Linked DNA regions of Homo sapiens: regions 1, 3 and 4 are each linked to region 2. Evidence: promoter capture Hi-C in 16 types of primary human blood cells and fetal thymus (Javierre and others, 2016). All regions are on one chromosome and are shown on one strand. The core of a region is centred on a gene start or on the middle of the fragment in contact, and the rest is flanking DNA. Distances in the headings are between cores, read along the strand shown. Region 1 has its middle 22 kb from the start of SPRR2G. Region 2 holds the start of SPRR4 (small proline rich protein 4). Region 3 holds the start of LCE1D (late cornified envelope 1D). Region 4 has its middle 5.7 kb from the start of LELP1.

Region 1 (2,798 bases), core at 273-2,772, 200 kb before region 2:
CATAAATGATTCTTGAAGCCAGTGAGAGACTTGAGTCTTGCCACCTCCAACCCCATGGAAGGAACTCCCTGGAGCATCACTGACTCAGGACTTCTAGCCTCTGCTCTGACACCTCCAGTGACAAGGAGGGAACCGCTCTGTAGTTCAGAGCAAAATTCTCCTAAAGTAACAGAAGTCACTGGGAAGCACATTTCAGTCCAACCAAGGAAATAGTTTCTAAGTAAGTTCATTAATAATAAATCTGGTTGCCTCCCTTGTACAGAGCACTCTATTGTGGACAGACTTCAAGCAGAGGCTGAAAGACCATCAGGAGGTATTTTAGAGCAGATTTCCATTCAATATGTGCTTCTGATCCCATGATTCCTTTTCTTATCTGAGATTTTTTTTTCTGTTTGACTTCCCTTTAGAGCCTCCATCATTTCCCTCTATTTATTTCCCTCTCTCTGTAGGACAACCTCCATATTTATTTCCCTCTGTCTGTAGGACAACTTCACTCTTTCTTATTGTCCAAACCACAGGCTCTGAAAGAGCAGCCAGGGAGTAATCGAATATCACAAGCCTGGGGGTTCTGGAAGTGTTAGCCATGTTCTGTCCCAAGGCCTTCACTCAAATTCTCAGGTCTGTGTCCTCATTTGAAGACTGTTCTTTGTGGTTTCTGAATAGCTGGGATTTGACTTCAATTTAAGTGAAGTAAGCCCTCTTGGGGTTGTAGAAAGAACGTGAGATAGGATGTGAACATGTGGATGCTAGCTTTACTGACATTAACCAGCTGTGCTGTCTGAGTGAAGTTCCTCAGTATCTCCATGACTTTATTTCTTCATCTCTAATATTGAAGACTTGTAAGAGTTCCAAAGTTAATTCTAGAATTATATTATGTTTGTCCGCCTGTCTATTTATGCACTTAACTATCCTAATTCTTTAAAACCCCACCTTGAAAAAAGTGGTCACTGTCAGTCCAACCATACAATCTTCTTCCGGCCCAGATGAAGGCTAGCCCAAGCCCTAATGGAACTCTTCTCTCCTTTTAGGGATAATCCCAGTAGCTGTCTCTTCTTCAACTTCCTGCTTCAGAGGATTAAGGTGGCATAAAAAGTAATCTTGTACCTTTGATCCCAAGCACAGTCAAACTTTTGGAAAACAAAAGGGTTTGCCCCAGTTTTCCGTTTTTTGGGTGCCTCATTCCAGTTACTAATGTGATGTGTCTAACTCTTTTTTTGTACCGGAAACTCCAGTTTTGCAGGTATTGAGTGACTAGCAAGGTTTCCATCTCCTGAGGAAGGGTAGCCTGGGAGAAAGAGGACACAGAAGCCCTTTCCCACAGTATCTCTGGGGTCTCTGTGGGGGCAGCCAAAGGAAAGGTGCAATGAGGTGCATTGGGGGCAGGACTCTTGAGTGGGGGAAGGATGTGTGCAAGGACTGGTAGGTGGTAGGTTAGTGATAGAAGACTTGAACTTATGTTGTAATGCTACAGCAAAAGTCAACCGCATGAGACCAGACCACGTATTGTGATAGGTGCCACCAGGAAAGAACTCTGTGGAATTGATAGATAAAAAGGTTCATTAGAAAAAACTAAATGGGACAGTCTGGAGAAGTAGACCTGGTCTTCTGAGCATGAGAGTTATAATTTAAGGATAGTTTTTTCAGTCAGGGAGTGTTGATAGACCCTGGAAGGTGAGAGGTGAAGTAGAGTGGAAGCCAATTCCTGGTCCTCTCATGGGACATGGCTTGACTGTCACTTGTCTCATGTATTCAGGAGGATGCTGGATACCTGAAGCTGTAGGTCGCTCCAATTTCAATGGAGGATTAAAGTTGAGTGTAAAAGGAAATTGGTAAACCAAAGAAGAAGGTCTGAACAAGTCCTTAGTACATGGCCAAAGGACAGACGTAGATACTGATAGCTGGAGTACAGGGCTGGGGATTCGGGGGGCATGGGAGGGGAGGGCAGAAGCATTGGGCAGAGCTCAAGAGGGGAATTGTGGTCTTTGGGTAATGTTAGACATCCACTAATTTCACTGGTTGATGTGTTTGCTTTGTTGTATTATTTGGTAGGGAAAACTGTGCTTATGGAACCATACCTGGGCAAAAAAAGAGACTTCACTATCTGTGCCAGGGAGATGGGACCACCATCTGTTGGCAGCTGTGAAGTTGAGAGGTGGCTGTTCACCAGAGATGAATACACAGGGTTTCCAGTCAACTTTCAGCATTTTGGTGCATGATACCCAAGCCCTAGCCAGTGGAAAAAGTGAGCAATTATCTGCTGAAGAAATGTCCGTAGTGGTGAGTGGTGGTAGGCTGGGTGGAGGAAAAGCGGTGGCATGTGCAGTGGAGATTCAGGTACTGAAAGGGTATATGGTGTGATCACACAAGTCCGTATAACCCAAATTCTCAAATGTCAGTCTGATGAATGAATACAGGGAAGCATTCCTGGGGAGGCGAGTGGGTGTAAAGGCTCCTGTAGTCCAAGAATCTTGAATGTTTATATGCAATCCATTAGCTCAATAGTAGCTGTAATTGTTATTTACTCTCTTTTTGAGTTTTAGTGTTTGTGTGTGGTAAGACACACCTGTGTTTCAAGTAGTCCCAGGACGGCCGGGAAAAGGGTGGAGGAAGGAAGGGTGTTTACCTGCTCATATTCAGAGAAACTAATTGCCTGGGAAAATTTAGGCTAAACCAATGAAGATGAGAGAGTTTCAACATTTCAGTCATACTGGCATTTAAGGCAGGTGTGAACAAATAAACACTAGTGACAAGAACAGCCTTGCCAAGCAAAGTACTCTTCCGTGAAAAGAGGGAGGATT
Region 2 (2,700 bases), core at 148-2,647:
TCTTGACCTGGGGAGCACATGGATCCTTGGTTTTGGGTGCACATGTCTCTTGACATTTAACAGGGGGTGGCTGACAAGGCTGCTTCACTTGCTGCTGCTGGGCCCTCTGGGGTGGGCACTGCTGCTGCTGCCGCTGCTGCTGCTGGGAAGACATTGCTCTAGGAACAGGTGAGCCTAAAGGAAACCGGGCAGGGACACCATGAGAAGGGTGTTAAAAAGTAGCCTTTTAACACCCTTTTTAAAAAGATGGTTAAAAAGTAGCCCAGACATTTTACAAGGTCAAAGCATGCCATCTTAGCTGACAGATCTGGACAATGTCAACTGGCTCCCTTTGATAATGCAGACAATGAGAATGGGCAAGGATGTAGGGGCATGAGGAGAGGACAAAAACAGTCTCTGTCTTACAGGTAAGCATCATGGTGTGTGTGTGAGTGTGTGTGTGTGTGTGTGTGTGTGTGTGTGTGTGAGAGATCGGGCTGGAGAAGGGGTGTATAAGAATGCAGAGGCCTGATCTCTAATCCCTGCTCCACCCCTGACTCACCATGGGAGACTAAGGCAAGTCCTATGTGGCTACAGGATAGTGGTTCCAGCCCTCTACAAAGAACTGGGAAGCTTGAGGGCCAGCCAAATAGATCACTGGAGCCAAAGGATGACAGGAGGATGTTCAAAGGAAAGAGCGCTAGCCAAGAAGGCTCAGACATTGGTTCTAGGTCCATCCTGCCATTAACTTCATGGGCAACCTTCCTTCTGTGGGTCTCAGCACCCTTATTAGAAGGATGCTGGTCAGGAAGTTCCCTGAAGCCTTCCCAGCTCTGATGAGGGTCTCTGGCTATCTTTGTAGGCAGTGTTCCTTATGGTCTAAGTTAATGATTATAGATGGGAAGTGCAGGCCTCAGGAAGTAAAGAGGTGGCAATCAGAATAGGGAAGCATGAGAGCTGCATAGGATTGAATAAAATGTTCAATATACCTGTTTGCATACACCTGGAAGAAAAGTTTAAAGCTTACTGGTAAGCAAAATGCAGAATAGGGTGTGAGAAACCTTTAAACAGGGCTCGGAATTGCTACAAAATCCTGTAGCTCTAAATATCTCCTTCTTCAACAATAAAAATCTTCTTTCTGGGGAGTCAAACCCATGATCAGAAAATAAGTCATACTGAGCAATGGTGCGGAATGGAGATTAAACTTTCTAAGTACCGATTAGTGTGCCATTTCCGCAATTGTCAGAAGACTTGTGTCACTTCCCTGATTACCCAAGGATGGAAGAGGATCTTGGCCTAGCGGCTCAAAGGAGTTAAAGGAGAAGGAAAGCGCCCCACAAATCCCAGGAGAACAGATGAGTTCTCACTTACCAGAGGCGACAAGCTGGACCCCAGGAGAGGAGGCTGAGCCCTTGTCCACAGGCAGAGCCACTCCAGGAGCCTTTATAGGGCCCCCAACCTGCCCTGGGCACTTGGTGTGGTCCTGATTACCACCTCCCAGGGAATTCCTCACCCACTTCTCCCACCTGCACTTCCTTCAGGGACTTGCTTTGCTGACCTGTTTTGATGAAAGCCACCCACCATATATTTTCAGCATTCCAAGTCTCTGCACCTGAGCTGATTTAACCCACCAAAGGTGTTTGCTCAAACTCAGGGATTCAAGATCTTTTAAATATAGTACAAATTGAAGGAGCTGTTTGCAGACAGACAGTTATAAGAAATATTGAAGAAAAAAGAGGAAGAGGGAGAGGATGGGGTTTGGGGCAATTCTGACAAAAATGTGAACATCCCTTTTTCTGCAAATTGCTGCCATTTCTTGAGCACTCACTGTGAGGCTAGCACCAGGACCATCCGTCATGCTTATTATTTCATTTCATCTTCATGGCCCCTCTAGGGAAAGTGTCGTTGTTACCATTTTGCAGATGAAAAAAGTGAGGCTGAGAAAGATTAAACAGCAGAGATGGGATTTGAATTCAGATCTGGATGATTCAATGCCTAGCCCCAGGTACCACTCATCCCCCTTCCTCAATACACAGTGCAAGTGTCCTTCCTATTCCAGGGGGACAGTTCACGAAGTGTTCTGTGAGGCTTCTCTGGGGCACAGGTAGAAGATGATGTGAATGGTGCCCCAGCACACGGCGGTGCTGTCCCCATCTGCCCATTGGGAGTTGGGGTGCTGAGGAGTATTCGTGGTGGTTACAGAACATGGGATAGAATTGGCCCCTGTGGTAGACTTGCCACATAAAATACAGGACATTCAGTTAAATTTGAATCTCAGATAACAGAATATTTTAAAAGTATAAGTATATTCCAAATATTGCAGGAAACATACTCAAAAATTACTTGTAGTTCATATGAAATTCAAATTTCACTGGGCAGGCTCTATTTTTATTTGCTAAATACAGCAATCCTACTCAGGGCCTTATCTAGGTGGCAGGAAGGAGCCCTGGTCCTCCATTTAGCCTCCTAGGCCCTGGGATGGAGAAAGGCAGGGCCTCTGGGAAGCTGGTCCACCTCTAGCCCTCTACCCCAAAGATCGACCTCAGGATGCTGCCCAACAAGAGGCCATGCAAGGGCTCACCACTGCCATCACCAGAGGAAGGGGTAGGATGGCCTGAGAAATGATAGGAATACCTTAATGTACTTTCCAAAGCATTTTTCAAATCCCTCACCTCATTTAATCCTCATGACAATTTTACTGACAATTTAAAGAGGCTGGCC
Region 3 (2,700 bases), core at 184-2,683, 170 kb after region 2:
AGTCAAGGTCCACTTCAGCAGCAGCCTCCAGAGTGCTGGCTGCTGCCCCCACCGCAGCAGCTGGAGCCCCCCGAGGGCTGGCTGCAGCAGTCAGAGCTCTGGGGTCTGCGACGGTGGGACCTGTGGCGCCTGTGGTGGCTCAGGCAGCAGCCACCACCCCCAGAGCTGCAGCAGCCCCCAGAGTTGGAGCCACAGCCGCCCCCAGAGCTGGAGCCACAGCAGCCTCCGGAGCTGACACTGCAGCAGGAAGAGACTGGAGGGCACTTAGGGGGACATTTAGGGGCGGGGCACTTGGGAGTGCACTTGGGAGTGCACTTGGGAGGGGGCTGGCACTGCTGCTGGCTCTGCTGGCAGGACATCTCGGTGGTGGGTGTTCAGGAGCTGAGGGAGAGTCAAATAACAAGTCAGACCCAGGCAGAGGCCACCTCTGCCCCTGTGACACTCTTAGCACCTCTCAAGTTTAAAAGCATCATCTTCAGTAGTTTTATTTCCAATAATTTCCTCAAAATCTCACATCATCTTTTTCAAGATATCTTTGGATGTCAGACAACTGTAAACTAAGACTAAACAATATTGCAAAATGCATCTAAGATTCTGATGTGTTGTCAGTGGAGGAAGAAATTATTACAAATATATCTTAAGACTGAAATTGTCTAATTTATGAGTCATTTAAGAGAAAATTATTTTTAAAGGAGAAGAAGCAGTCATTCTCTCTGGTCATAATTTGCAAGACGATTTTACTTTGGAAGGTCAGCATTGTGCAGGATCTTGGAGACTACTAGGTCAGTAAACTCACTTCAATAGAGACAGATAAACTTAGCAGTTTCTGCAGACTAGTACTTGAACCCTGACCCCCTGATCTCAGGTTGGAGCTCAGACTTCCTCACTCACCACCTGCTCAGGCTGATGGGATGACACGGTGGGTCTCAGGCTTGGTGTGTCCTAACCAAGCTGGGAAGTTTGTGAACAAATCTCAGACCCATGAAAATGTGGGGTTCATAAACCCCAAAGAGTCTTTAGTCCCATGTCCACAGCTCCAGTTCTTCCCTTGCAGGCAGAGACAGGGTTGTATCTTCAGAGGTGGGCTTCCCTCCTGTGGGCTGCCAGAGTGGAGCAGGTCTCTGTGCTTCAAAGTTCCCACTCTGGAACACCCACCTCATCCCAGAGCAGTTTGTTTCCTCTAGAGTTCAAAGGCACATGGCACAGCCCGCCAGCTCTTTTCCTCTTTTCCTTCCTGCTCCCAGTTAGTGCCAGACCCCTTTTGGCCCCCGCCCCTTCAGTCTTTTCTAAACTCTCCACCTCTGACAACATGGCCCTAGCCCCGGAGGCCCTGCCCCTCCTTCCCTCCTGCTCTGTTCTGAGCATCCCTGCTCTGTTCTTACCGGAGTCACAGGCAGCACAGGGTTCTTTAGCACCTCAGGAGGTGAGTGGATGGGGTGGTCTGGCCCTGAGCCCTTTTATCCTGGCCTGGGCTCTGCCCCAGCTGTGAGACAGGGCCTGGGCATGAGAGGACCTTCCTTCTGACACCCACGTGGGTCTTGTGATGGTTGGTGACTGACAGCTCCTCACCTGCCTCTCTCCCCAGGCTCAAGGCAGCCACTCCCAGGTAGGAAAGTGCCTACTTGAAACGGGGTTCCAGGATGACTCCTACCATCACCTACCTCATTCACTTGAAGGCTGCTTGCCCTGAGAGCCTCTCAGTTCTCAGTCTTAGAACTTAGGACCTATCTCATTTCTGTCTCTTCCGAAGTACCTGATGCTCCGTGCAGCCTGGGTTGAAGTTGAAGTACTAATCCCTGAGGTTTCCATGCATGTTTATTTCTGTCCCTGTGCACCACCAAACTGTGTGGCTGTGGGTGCAGTGTAGACATCTACACAAGTAAAACCCTGGAAGTATAACCCGGCCCAGGACCAGGCCCTGCGAGATGGGACTGTTGAAACTATTTAGCCTGTACCATTTTTTAAACCATAAAGCTGGAAGATGAAAAAGAATTAGTTACAGAAGAATTAGTTGGTTGTGAAAGTCAATAAAGTAACACAAAAAAGAGAAAATGTGCCTGACAGAGAGACTGAAACATTGTAGGCTCTGAATAAGTGAAACATTCATAACTTGCTGAATACAGAATGAAGATACTGATCTTTGTTTAACAAACGAAGCACAGCTTTTTTCTAATGAGAGTGAGTCTGGCTGTTTGGTGATCTGTTTGCTTTTAAATAGCCCTTTTCTTCTGGTGGGGTCCTTGATGTGTCAGCACTGAGATGTGAACAAGGAAGCAGCTCATTAGAGAAACAAGAAGCAGCAGCTCTGCTCTTTGTATTGGTGTGAGAATTTGGACTTTTCTGGGTTCACACTGGGAGCACCGGATGATGGTCACAGATGAGAAACAGGAAGAAAAGAGACATGGTTGTGAGACATTATAAGTCTACGCTTCCATGTGGGGTCAAATGGCTGGCAGAACCCCGTCCTGGACCATAAGGGGACGGGTGCCTTTTAAGAACAAGAGTCCTTAATATTTAATGTGAATGTGTTTATGCTGCTACTTTGGAAGCCCCTCTCCTCTCTCTCCACTAGAATCACTAGCTTTCTACATGTCCACAGGATTTATATGAATGGAGTGTTCTGAATTTATACATTTTTAGGATATTAATGAAATGGGCTGCTGTTCATTCTAGGACACACTAGTCACTAAGACAGCCATG
Region 4 (2,845 bases), core at 116-2,615, 230 kb before region 2:
GTTTATCAATCACCATTGCGTAAGTTTTTCTTGATATTTGTGTATTTTTGCTCATTCATTATATAAAGGGGGAAGAATGTTCTACGAAATCCTCATGGACATGGTTCAGGGTTTATCCTATTTGACTTTACTGCAGTAATTGTTACAGTTGTGTCCTATATTTTAACCCTCTTCCCTTTTGGTCCTCTGTGACATGGGTAGACTCCCACTTACAGCCTCATCTACTCTCCTTCCCGAGCCCTTTCTCCTCTGTTGAATCCTTTCAACATCACCTGCACCTTCATTTTTCACCCTTGCTGCTGATATTATTATCCACCATTGCTGAAAGTACCAGCTCTGCATAGAGAATCCCAAAGCCCACCCTCTTCCCTGAGCTTTAGGTCCCAATACTAACATCCATTGGATGTACTTTGGTACCTCAAGCTGATTTTACAAAATCAGAGTTCAACACCTTCCACATTTTTCCTAACATGCCCCTCTTGCTCCTCTTATGCGCTCCGACTCTGTGAATAGCATCCTGTCCACCAAGACTTAACAAGAAACCTGGGATCATCCCAGACTCTTGCTTCCTACTCAACCTCACACCAAATGTGCTATCAGGATCTGCAGATTCTACCTCCTGAGCCACAGGCTTCTAAGCCAGGGTGTGTTTGGGAGCTGCAGGCACATTTCTCTCAAGTTGGTCCCCCATTCTCTCACAGCCATGGTTGCTGCCTTTATTGTGGCATCATCATCACAGGTCTCCCTGTCTCCAAAGAGTCTCACCACTAATTCAACCCCCACAGCATTGCCGAAGTGAATTTTATAAAACAAAAGCTTAATTTTACTATTGAATTTAAGATGAGGCCCAAGGCTCTTGGTTGGGTCAACAAAACTCTTACTAATCTGGTGTCTACTTTCAGCTCGGTCTTCTACTTTTACCGTAGATTCTGGGGTAAAGCTACTTGCAGTTTCCAAAATATGCTAGACTTTTTTTATTTTTTTAAACTCCGAGTTTTTGCTCTGCCAGCCGAGTCCTCCCTCTCTCCTCCTCAACCTTGAACTCATAGGAAATTCTCCTTGGGCATGATTTCTCTCACCTTCCCAGGCAGTTAGTTGCCTTAGCCAAGCTCATTCTGAAATTTTTATCCCCATATTTTGTAGTTATTTACTTCCTGATCTACTCTCTCACATGATGTAGTGTAGAGATCAGGAACCAATTACTTTTTAAAATCTCTGTTTCTGCAGTGTCCAGTGTGTGTCTTGGCACATGTTGGCCAGGCAATAGTTAATGCTTCTTGTCAATAAGGAGATGGAATAATATTTCAATGGTTTCGCAATTGCTTTTCTCTCTAACTGGAGTATCCCCCTCCTTTTTGCCTTATTGATATTTATTTTTTATCTTCTATATACAATTTGAAAATTCCACCTTCCATGTGGACTGCTCTGGACCCCCACCCTGCTGCAGTTAAGAGATACCATCTCTGAACATGCCTGATGTGCTCCCCATGGATTGACTCCCCACCTGTTCTGCCGGGGGGCAATGCTGTCTTCTGTCTCATACAGTGCCCTAATCCAGGAAAGGGCTTTCTTATTATTCTTTGCATCTTTAGTGCTGGGCCAGGGCCTGACATATAATAGATGCTCAGTGAATATTTGGGAAATAAATGAATGGATATACAAGACAAAGTTCAGCAGGGGAGATAAGAATCAAATAAACTGTCTGTCAGAGGAGGGAGATCCAACTTTATGGAGATGGAGATCTGTTTCTCAGGGTCAGCTTCCAACATGAATATATCTGTATGAGGCCCAGAGATTCCAGGAGGCAGGTACCGCTGGGCTGTGTAGGCTGAAAATCCCAGATCTTGTTGGATTTGTCCAGGATACAGCCGCCATCTGATCCAGGCTCCCAAGCAGAGATGGACTCAAGCTTCAGCGAGTGTCCATCTCCCCTTCCCTGCAGCTAGGGTTTATCTTGCCCTGCACCTCCTCTTCATCCTCCAACATACACACACACACACACACACACACACACACACACACACACACACACATTCTCTGCCTGGTGAGACCCACTTCAGGAGAACTGGGGAGGACACAGGATGGAGTGGACTTGGCAGGGAGGTAGCTGGGCCAGGCACGGTAGGGAAGGATCCTGTGGGTAAATGGGAGTCATTCTCTTGAGTGAAGCTCTACCGGACTCCTCTGTGGAGTCCACATTTTACCTGAGGGCTCCTCCTAAGGTGCCCACCAGGCTTCTGTTTCCTTTTTCCTCCTGTGACACCATCACCTTCCCAGCTACAAGCAAGGGCAATAAACTGGGGGCCCACTGGGGCAGATGTCTTAATGGAGAGAGCAGAGATGAAGAGAAAATCCCTCAGCAGGTTGAGAGTGACTTCTGCAGGCTCAGGGCACAAAGCGAGATCTCTTTGCACAGGTAAGGAAGGCAGTGAAAAGCAGAGACCCATTTCCTTCACTGAGTGTGGGATCACAAAGTCAGGAAATTTGGGGGACATTTTCAGATGATTTGAAGTAGTTCTTGTCAATTTCTTAACCAGCTTTACAAGGTCTTCATATTTTTTAATAAAGTGGGAGGCAGCACTGTGTTTCCCTAATGATCTTCTTTTGCCACAGGAGGCAGCATGGGCTGGAACAGTAGCAGTTGGAATAAGCAGCTTTATCTAATCAAACTTTAGCTAAGATGTGAAAATAACCTAAATGTCCATCAACAGATGAATGAAGAAAATGTGGTATATACACATGATAGAATACTATCCAGCCTTAAAAAGGAAAGAAATTCTGCCTTATTCAACAACATAAATGGCCCTTGAGGACATTATGCAGTGAAATAAGTCAAATACAGAAA

Evidence for each region. The method cuts DNA at HindIII sites, captures the fragments that hold promoters and counts their contacts. A CHiCAGO score of 5 or more calls a contact.
Region 1: a fragment that was not itself captured here is called in contact with the fragment with the promoter of SPRR4 in region 2 in 1 of 17 cell types (M0 macrophages); the score reaches 6.9 in M0 macrophages.
Region 3: the fragment with the promoter of LCE1D here is called in contact with the fragment with the promoter of SPRR4 in region 2 in 4 of 17 cell types (endothelial precursors, erythroblasts, fetal thymus and 1 more); the score reaches 10.5 in endothelial precursors.
Region 4: a fragment that was not itself captured here is called in contact with the fragment with the promoter of SPRR4 in region 2 in 3 of 17 cell types (endothelial precursors, M0 macrophages and M1 macrophages); the score reaches 6.0 in endothelial precursors.

The regions. Positions count from the first base shown.
Region 1 is chr1:153,171,040-153,173,837 of GRCh38, reverse strand. It overlaps a transcript of SPRR2G not described here. Among named protein-coding and RNA genes, the nearest start is that of SPRR2G, 22 kb to the right of the region's middle. The HindIII fragment of the contact is 3,626 bases long and covers 1-2,798 here.
Region 2 is chr1:152,969,345-152,972,044 of GRCh38, reverse strand. SPRR4 (small proline rich protein 4) reads right to left here and starts at 1,397. Exons shown (of 2, transcript NM_173080.3): 1 at 1,351-1,397; 2 at 1-174. The coding sequence starts at 154. The HindIII fragment of the contact is 3,718 bases long and covers 1,004-2,700 here.
Region 3 is chr1:152,795,454-152,798,153 of GRCh38, reverse strand. It overlaps LCE1D (late cornified envelope 1D), which reads right to left and starts at 1,433. Exons shown (of 2, transcript NM_178352.3): 1 at 1,383-1,433; 2 at 1-381. The coding sequence starts at 359. The coding sequence ends at 15. The HindIII fragment of the contact is 8,213 bases long and covers 1-2,700 here.
Region 4 is chr1:153,196,321-153,199,165 of GRCh38, reverse strand. It overlaps a transcript of SPRR2G not described here. Among named protein-coding and RNA genes, the nearest start is that of LELP1, 5.7 kb to the left of the region's middle. The HindIII fragment of the contact is 1,093 bases long and covers 819-1,911 here.